Regions from separate parts of the Homo sapiens genome. Here region 2 is linked to region 1. The links are contacts of gene promoters, found by promoter capture Hi-C in blood cells and fetal thymus (Javierre and others, 2016). All regions are on one chromosome and are shown on one strand. The core of a region is centred on a gene start or on the middle of the fragment in contact, and the rest is flanking DNA. Distances in the headings are between cores, read along the strand shown. Region 1 holds the start of TAF9 (TATA-box binding protein associated factor 9). Region 2 overlaps MRPS27 (mitochondrial ribosomal protein S27).

The links. The method cuts DNA at HindIII sites, captures the fragments that hold promoters and counts their contacts. A CHiCAGO score of 5 or more calls a contact.
Region 2: a contact is called between a fragment that was not itself captured here and the fragment with the promoter of TAF9 in region 1, in 7 of 17 cell types (naive CD8 T cells, total B cells, fetal thymus and 4 more). The highest score is 10.1, in naive CD8 T cells.

What each region holds. Positions count from the first base shown.
Region 1 is chr5:69,366,932-69,370,769 of GRCh38, reverse strand. TAF9 (TATA-box binding protein associated factor 9) reads left to right here and starts at 1,250. Exons shown (of 3, transcript NM_003187.5): 1 at 1,250-1,307. It overlaps AK6 (adenylate kinase 6), which reads left to right and starts at 1,250. Exons shown (of 5, transcript NM_016283.5): 1 at 1,250-1,307. The coding sequence starts at 1,280. It overlaps RAD17 (RAD17 checkpoint clamp loader component), which reads right to left and starts at 952. Exons shown (of 19, transcript NM_133338.3): 1 at 837-952. RefSeq lists an enhancer at 149-698. The HindIII fragment of the contact is 4,867 bases long and covers 769-3,838 here.
Region 2 is chr5:72,308,010-72,313,224 of GRCh38, reverse strand. The region is part of intron 2 of MRPS27 (mitochondrial ribosomal protein S27); the gene reads left to right. Among named protein-coding and RNA genes, the nearest start is that of MRPS27, 9.6 kb to the left of the region's middle. RefSeq lists enhancers at 718-1,218, 4,864-5,113 and a silencer at 4,524-4,813. The HindIII fragment of the contact is 929 bases long and covers 3,501-4,429 here.

The DNA.
Region 1 (3,838 bases), core at 1-2,500:
TGTTCAGCCCTCCGCCCCAAATCGTTCACGATTAGAGACTGTGACGTTTCAAAAGGTATACAGGTGGAAAAAAAACACCTATTTGAGTAAATATAGTTTGTAGCTCGAAATAAAAGATGCAGACCAGGGGCCGGACGCGGTGGCTCATGCCTGTAATCCCAGCACCGTGGGAGGACGAGGCGGGCGGATCATCTGAGGTCAGGAGTTTGAGACCAGCCTGGCCAAAACATGGTGAAACCCCGTCTCTATTAAAAATGCAAAAATTAGCCGGGCGTGGTGGTGGGCGCCTGTAATCCCAGCTACTCTGGAGGCTAAGGCAGGAGAATCACTTGAACCCAGGAGGCGGAGGTTGCACTCCAGCCTGGGCGACAAGAGTGAGACTCCGTCTCAAAACAAAACAAAAACAAACAAACAAACAAAAAAAGGTGCAGACTGTTGTCACGGTCAGGTCTCTATTCACTCTTGAAAACAAGATTGACAATTACCTCCTTTAAAAAGCAGATAACTGTCCCTGAAGATGCGAGGTTACTGAAATGAGATGTCAGAGGTAGACCTTCAAGACTATTCCTAGCCGACCCACCACCACCCCACACAGTGAACAGGGAATACTAAGCTCAAATATTCGTCCAACGTAATCCTGTAATCAGTGGGGTGCCGGGTTGAGCTCGCAAATCCCCGCTGCAGGACAGGGCTCTGCACCCTCAATCTTCTCATCCCCAGATGGGATGGGCGGGTCGGGAGGAGGAGCGACGAGAGCCCAGGAAAGCTTGAAGGCAGAGATAGACTCACGTCTCTAAGACATATACATAATATAGCCGCAACCGCGGCGGCCTTACTTTCCCGGAGCTGCATCCCCTTTTAGGCGAAGAGCGGAGGCGACCAGGGACTACCCTAGGTGAAAGGGCAGCCACCTGGCCCTACCCGGGCTCAACGCCGAGCCTCTCGGAGGTACGGCCTCCCGGGGACCTTCCAGACTGGTCGGCGCAAGCGAAGGGCGGGGACCACCGAAGGAGTGTGTGACTTAGGCATCCAGCGCACTGCCTGACCCGAAGTACCGACCCGAGTTATGCCCACCCTCCAACTTTGCGACGGAAATGTGTCATCGAAAGCCAGGTAACCAGTGGGCCGCGGCTGGGCCGCCGGGGCAGGCTAGGGGCGCCGCGGTGGGCTTCGGGGCCTTTGGGGCCGTGGGCTTTTGCTGCCGCCCGCCCCTTCCGGCTCCTCCCTGTAGAGCAAAGGGCACGTGAGCGAGGCGCCCGAAGCCGTCGCGGCGGGGACCATGTTGCTTCCGAACATCCTGCTCACCGGTCAGGGCGCGCGGCCGGGAGGGACTGGGCTGGGGCAGGCTGGGGGCGCAGAGTGCTCTGGGCATCGGGCGCCCAGGTGGGGGCCCCTCACTGCCCTCTTCAGAGGCCGGCCGAGGGCCACGAGGCGGTTGTCAGCGCCCCGGGAGCCGACCCTCGCGGGCGTTGCGGGAGGCGAGGGAGGGGACGCGGAACGTTAATTCCGTTGGCCTGAGGCTCCGGGGGGGGGCGGGGGGGGGTGGAGAGAGGTCGGCAGATCCAGCTCTCCAGCTTGGCAACCTGCTTAGTCTTTCTGAATCTGGTATTTCGTTTGTAAAATGGGTTGTTGATTCTTTGGCAGGGTTGGCCTTGGGATTTTTAGCGAAATAACGTAAGGCCATATCTGCTTCCCGGTAGAGTCATTAATGGTGGATGCCTCACTCCTTAGGCCTCCGTGGGCCGTATTTTATTTTTTCTTTGCTTCTGATAAACGCCTCAGATTAGATTTCGGTAAACGAGTTCAGATGTTTGTGACGTGACGAAATTGCTGTATGCTTTTGTTGAGTTACATCAAAGGATCCCCCCGCCCCTTAAAAGGAAGGCATATAGAGCATTTCGGGTCGTTTCTCGCGTAGGAGTGGGTCTTTGAAGCCATACTCAGGGTGCATGTTATCAGTGAAGGGAATTAAAATGCTGCATAACGACTTTAACGAATATTTTTGCTAGCCGTTTAGTCCTGAAAGTGTTTATCAAATTGTAGGCCATTCGTGGAAAAATCTAATGCATGTAGATTTTATTGCAAGGTACAGAAAAATTAAGACTCTTTGTGGGAACAGTAAAGTTACATCATTCACCCAAAGGTAAAATTGTTGGCAGCGCACAAGACATGTCTGTTTCTGAGAGGTGCAGATTAACCACCCCACAAATAACGTTTAGAATTTTAGATTCCTTAAGCGGAAGATTTTACATCTTTTTGCATGGATCAAACATAGTGCCCTGGTTATTAAGTCATTGTCAAAACTTTAAAGTGAACATTTTATTGAAAACATGTTGAGTCCAGGGTTCAGACTTGGTGTATTATAGTGGACTTGAGGTGACCGTTATTCTCCTGGGTATGGGAACTGGATTATCCCTGTTATCTTTATGCTTAAGTTTAATTTCAGGGATGTTAAATCTGAATAGCTGAAAATTATGAATTTGATGATCTTGAAATGTAATTTTAATAGGTATCAGAAGGGGAAGGTAAAGAACAATGTATATAGTATTGTCATTTATGTAAAAGGGAATATGTGTTGTATTTATATAACAAAGAGTATGTACATATATGTACATTTACATGCAAACATAAATAGGGTTTCTTTGGGAAAGGAAACTGGTTTACAGTGGTTATCTCTAGGGAAGGGCGCAAGGGGTCAGTAGAGGTAATTTTCAGACTGCTTAATTTTAACATGAACAGTTTTGTTTTTGTTCTTGTTTTTGTTTTTGTTTGAGACAGAGTCTCATTATGTTGGCCAGGCTGGTCTCGAACTCCTGCGCTTAAGCGATCCTCCCGCCTTCTCCTCCCAAATTGCTGGGATTACACGCGCGAGCCACCACACGTGGCCATGAACAGTTTTTAAATCTTTATAAGTTAAAGCAAATAGGCCAGGTGGGTGGCTCATGCCTGTAAATCCCAGCACTTTGGGAGGTGGAGGTGGGGAGATCGCTTGAGCTCAGGAGTTTGAGCTTAGCCTAAGCAACATAGCCAAACCCCGTCTCTACAAAAATTAACCAGGGCATGGTGGTGCATACCTGTGGTCCTAGCTACCGGACAGGCTGAGATGGGAGGATTGCTTGAGCCCAGGAGGTAAAGGCTCTAGTGAGCCAAGTTCCACTGCACTCCAGCCTAGGTAACAAAGAGATATCTTGTCTTTAAAAAAAGAAAAAGGTAAATAAATTATTGTAATTGATTCGAGGTGGCTAATTTTTTTTTTTTTTTTTTTGAGATGGAGTCTCTGTCGCCAGGCTGGAGTGCTGTGGCGCGATCTTGGCTCACTGCATCCTACAACTACCTGGTTCAAGGGATTCTCCTGCCTCAGCCTCCTGAGTAGCTGGGATTACAGGCACGCGCCACCACGCCCGGCTAATTTTTGTATTTTAATAGAGATGTAGTTTCACTATGTTGGCCAGGATTGTCTCAATCTCCTGACCTTGTGATCTGCCCGCCTCGGCCTCCCAAAGTGCGGTGATTACAGGCATGAGCCACTGCGCCCAGCACGAGATGGCTAATTTTATTCTCAGCAGTTCCCCGGTAGCAGCAGGCAGTTTGAATTGGCGTCAGAATCTGCTGAGCCCCACCCCTGGAGAATCAATACACTGGGTAATATTCTGACATTCAGTTAGCTTTGGAAAATTTTTATTAGATCGTAGTACATGCTAATTTACATATGGCCAGGCATGGTGGCTCACGCCTGTAATCCCAGCACTTTAGGAGGCCGAGGCTGGCAGATCACCTGAGGTTAGGAGTTTGAGACCAGCCTGGCCAATATGGTGAAACCCGGTCTCTACTGAAAATA
Region 2 (5,215 bases), core at 2,716-5,215, 2.9 Mb before region 1:
TACCTTATTGGGATTTTCAAAGATCTCATCCTTTTCTTTACTGATGATGTGATTGCACAAGCAGAGTTGGCTGTGAGCTCTGAGATGGGTGTATGTGCACAGGCCAGCTGAAGCAGAGCTGTGGAAGATCTGAAGATAAGTAATCGCAGCTTCTCCATGAGAAACTTACAGTCTCATTCTGTCTATAAGAGGCCCAGGGTAGCCTTCTTATAACAAGTACTTTATCATACTCTTCTTTTGCCATCTTGAAACTAAATTCATAGTTAATATAATCTATCTATACTTACTGTTTTAAAAACCAGTATATGGCTGGGTGTGGTGGCTCACACCTGTAATCCCAGCACTTTGGGAGGCTGAGGCTGGTGGATCATGAGGTCAGGAGTTTGAGACCAACCTGGCCAAGATGATGAAACCCCGTCTGTTAAAAAATACAAAAATTAGCCGGGCGCAGTGGCAGGCATCTGTAATCCCAGCTACTCCGGAGGCTGAGGCAGGAGAATCGCTTGAACCCGGGAGGCAGAGGTTGCAGTGAGCCGAGATCTTGCCACTACACTCTAGCCTGGGCAACAGAGCAAGACTCCATCTCAAAAAAAAAAAAAAAAATCAGTATGATTCCTTCGCCACGATACAGAGGAGAAACAAAGGGGAAGTAACTTAAACAATATGTATTTCAATTTGTAAACAAATGTCCAGGCAAAACTACAGTAAGAAACAATGAAGCAGGTAAATATTGCATATAAATGTGGAATAATTATAGACATGGAAGAAGTGTAGATGGGTAGAGATGCGGTATACTGGCAAATTCAAATACCAGGAGTGGCGCTATCATAATGACATAATTTTATTTATAGAATGAACAACTCTTGGTAAAGTTCTGATTGATTCAAAGGTATGTCTTCCCTCAATATAGAGTTGCAAAATTCACCTTATTTTCCATTAAAAAAACTTTGCTTATATGAAAAATGGAGTTAGTTCCATTAATGATAAACAGGTTGTTTTTGATGGTATAATTATGTCACAAATGACATGGCAAATTTTTTTAATCTTTTAATTTGGAAATAATTTTGTTGTTGTTATTGTCATTGTTGTTGAGACAGAGTCTGTACTATCTATCGCCCAGGCTGGAATGCAGTGGCGTCATCTCGGCTCACTGCAACCTCCGCCTCCTGGGTTCAAGCGATTCTCCTGCCTCCACCTCCTGAGTAGCTGGGGTTACAGCCGCACGCCACCACGCCCAGCTAATGTTTGCATTTTTAATAGAGACAGGGTTTTGCCTATTGGCCAGGCTGGTCTTGAACTCCTGGTGTCAGGTGATCTGCCCACCTCAGCCTCCCAAAGTGCTGGGATTACAGGCTTGAGCCACCGCGCCCAGCGGGAAATAATTTTAAACTTATAAAAACTGCAAAGAACTCCTCTATATCTGTCTTAGTTTGTTTTCTGTTGTTTATAACAATACCTGAAACTGGATCATTTATCAAGAAAACGAATTTATTTCTTACAGTTAGAGAGTCTGAGAAGGCCAGCGTTGAGGGGTGGCATCTGGTGAGAGCCTTCCTGCTGGTGAGGACTATTCAGAGTCCTGAGGTGGCTCAGAGCATCACATGGCGAGGGGGCTGAGCATGCTAGCTCAGGTCTCTCTTCCTCTTATGAAGCCACCAGTCCCACTTCCGTGATAACCCATCAATCCATTAACCCATTAGTCCATGAATGGATTAATTCATTCATCAGAGGAGAGCCCTTATGATCCACTGGCCTCTCAAAACTGTTACACTGGGGATTAAATTTCAACATGAGTTTCAGAGGAGACAAATATTTAAACCACAGCGCTACTTTTACTCATGTTCACCTGTCGTTACCATTTTGATTCATTTGTTTTTGCTTTCTCTCTCCTCCTTCCCCCTGTATACACACTTTCTTTAATCATTTGGGAGTTTGTTTCATATATTATAGCTCTTTATCCTGAATACTTCAATGTACATTACCTGAGATAAGGACATTCTATTGTATAATCATAGCACAGTTACCAACTTCGGAAATTTTGACATTAATATAATACTTTACTATTCATATCCCAGTTTTGGGAATTGACCCAATAATAGGGTCTCTCATAGCATTTTTCCTCTTCCAGTACAGGATGCTGTCTAGAATCATAGTTCCTTATCCTTTCTTTGTTTCTTATGACATTGTCCTATATATTTTTAAAGAACCCAATCTCTTTTTTTAAATAGAATATTCCTCTTTCTTGGATTTTTCTGCTATTTTCTCATTGTTATGCTTCCCCAGCCAGAATACTCTCAGTGATGTTGTGCCCCTGCCAGGGTATCACATGTGGACATACCTGATATCATATGCCTTCACTGGTGATGTCAGTTTTGATCACCTAGTCAACTGTGTCTGATTTCTCCACTGCAGAGTTACTGTTTTTCTCCCTTCTGATTAATAGGCTATTCTCGGAGAGAGACTTTAATGTAATGCAAATATGTTGTTTATCAAAAGTTTGCTCTTAGATTTGGCATCCATTCATGGCTTTAGCCTGAATCAATCTTTACTATAATGGTTGCAAAGTAATGATTTTCCAACTCTGAAAATTTCTCCAGATTTACTAGCTAACACTCAGTATTCTACTATAAGCAAGAACTCTTCCTTTTCTCTCATTTCTTTCTCATTTATCTGTTTATTATCATGCATTATGTTTAAATCATCAATTTGTGAATTTTTTAAATGATTCATTACCCTTCTCAATTATTTTGGTGGTCTAAATATCCCAGACTTGGCTGATAGAAGCCCTTTCAAGCTGGCTTCCATTTTCCCCCACCCCCCTCTTTTTTGATAACTTACTTTCTCTCATATAACAAGGTGTTTCAGGCTCACTGTGTACCCTTCCTGGCCTAGCCCTGGAATCAACCATTTCTCCAAGGAGCTCTGGTTACTTTTGGTGAGGAATGGCATTAGAAACCAAGATCTAGGTGCTAGGTGTCCTTTTGCTACTGTGAAATTTTTGCTTCTTGGCCCATTCAGTGAACAGTTCTGGAAAAAAAATGAATGCACATACACATAAACATACATGTACACATATGCATATACATATACTATATATATTTTGCAGATAATGAGTTCACACCAATCCCAAGTTCATCCCTATGGGATTCTTCTTGCCTTGCTCCAGTCCATATTTGTATCTCCCGTCTTCCATACTGACAGCCCTGGCTCCCACTAGAGACAGTGTTTTGATGTACGGGACAGTCTCAGCATTGCAGGTCATCTGAATTCCCTGTTTTCTGTCCATTAAGTGCCAGTAATGCCTTTCAGTCATTGTGACAATCAAGACCAACTTCCACATATCCTAAAATGCTCTGTAGGGCCAATACTATACTGTTCTAGTGATCAGACCAGTATGGACTCATAGTTATACAGCAAGGCGTGTTCGGATGTGCCATATGTGAATTATAAGCAAAGTGCAGTGAAGTACAGATAAGGGAATGACGAATTCCAGGAAAGCTTATTAACACTTTCCTAGGTATGTAGGGAAGATTAGGAAATGAGGCCACTAGGTTTGGTGTCTTGGTGTTGGGTATAGTCAGTCACACAAATCCAGGGAACATTGTCATGGATACCTGAGTAAGCAGTAACTGTTTGCCAAATAATGAGTATAATAATCTGCAGCGGGGCAGCACGCAGTGGCACACGCCTATAATCCCAGCACTTTGGGAGGCTGAGGTAGGCAGATCAAGTCAGGAGTTCAAGACCAGCCTGGACAACATGGTGAAACCCCGCCTCTACTAAAATTACAAAATAGCCGGGCGTGGTGGCGCACACCTGTAATCCCAGCTACAATGGAGGCTGAAGCAGGAGAATCGCTCGAACCCGGGAGGCAGAGGTTGCAGTGAGCCAGAGATCACGCCGCTGCACTACAGCCTGGGCGACAGAGCTGACTCTGTCTCAAAAAAAAAAAAGTCTGCAATGAGTAAATATCACATAGAGACATTTGTTCCCTTTCCTCAGTTAAGACTAGTTTTCTTGGAAAAGCAGTACTAGCCACCATTTACTGAATTTTTCCTGCCACCGAGACAGCTGTCCCCTCTGCCTAGAATATCTTTGTATATCCTGAATCTCTCCAGTCAGAATCGATGTTTCCTGCCCTATATTCTTTCAGCACTTTGTGCCTTCCTTGTGTATGATGTGCTGAAGTCTGCACTTGGGAGGCCGACTTCTGGGTGTCAGTCCCAGTTCTGCGGCTTTCAGCTGTCACACTCGGTTTCTGTGCCTATAAATTAGAGATGATGGTAATGCCTGCCTCTCCGTCTGACATGCAGGTGCTTCAGAAATATGTGCACTGAGGAGTCCCTAAGCCCCTTGTTTTTAGCCCTCTATAAAACGTGTGAGGTGAAATAATGTTTTGGAACTCACACTGCTTGGAACAAAGAAAGCTTTTGAGACTTTTTCCTACTGTGTACTGGAAGGTAATTATTGCCGCTTTTTTCAAAATGGACATTGTTTTCGGTTTTACTCGACGACACTACTTGTTTTCCCTCATTTTTATTTGAGCGTTTGGGTTGAGCTACTGGCACTTAGCAGGGAGGCCGCATGGTAGGGAGAGCGCCCGTGGCTCCAGCTCTGGAGATGGGACAGTAGGTGGCAGTGTGGCCCCTGCGGGAATCCGCCGCCCCGCGGGTGGAACGCGGCGAGTGGGCGCGGGGCTGTCGGGTAGCGTGCGCGCGCAGGGCCGCGCCCAGCATGTGGAGCGCTGTGATTGGGCGCCGCCAGCCGGAGGGCCGTGAGGTGCTCAAAGCGGGCTCGCTGATTGGGGGACGGAGGAGGGCCGATATGAGGCTTTCGCCGCTCCCATCCCCATTGGAGATCGAGGCAGCAAGGGACACTGCGGCGTGTGGGTGTGGGCTTCATGTGCCAGAGCGCCGTCTCCCCTGAGCCGTGCCCTGCCGGGGAGTACGGCGAGAGAGAGGTTCTGGCCTCTCGGAGTGGGCTTGCGGTTCCGGTGCCCCCTCTCTTCGTCCTCGTGGCTGATTGTGCCAGAGAGCTCCTCGGGGAGGGCCCTAGCGTGAGGGCAGTTTCCCAGCGCCGGGGCCGCGGTGGACGCCAATGCAGCTGTCTAGGACCTGCGCCCGCGGTGCGTCCAGAGGGCCCCGGCGCGAACGTCAGAACGCCGCCCCGTTCCGCGCTCTCAGCAGCCAGCCAGGGCCGCTGCCAGTTCCACCGT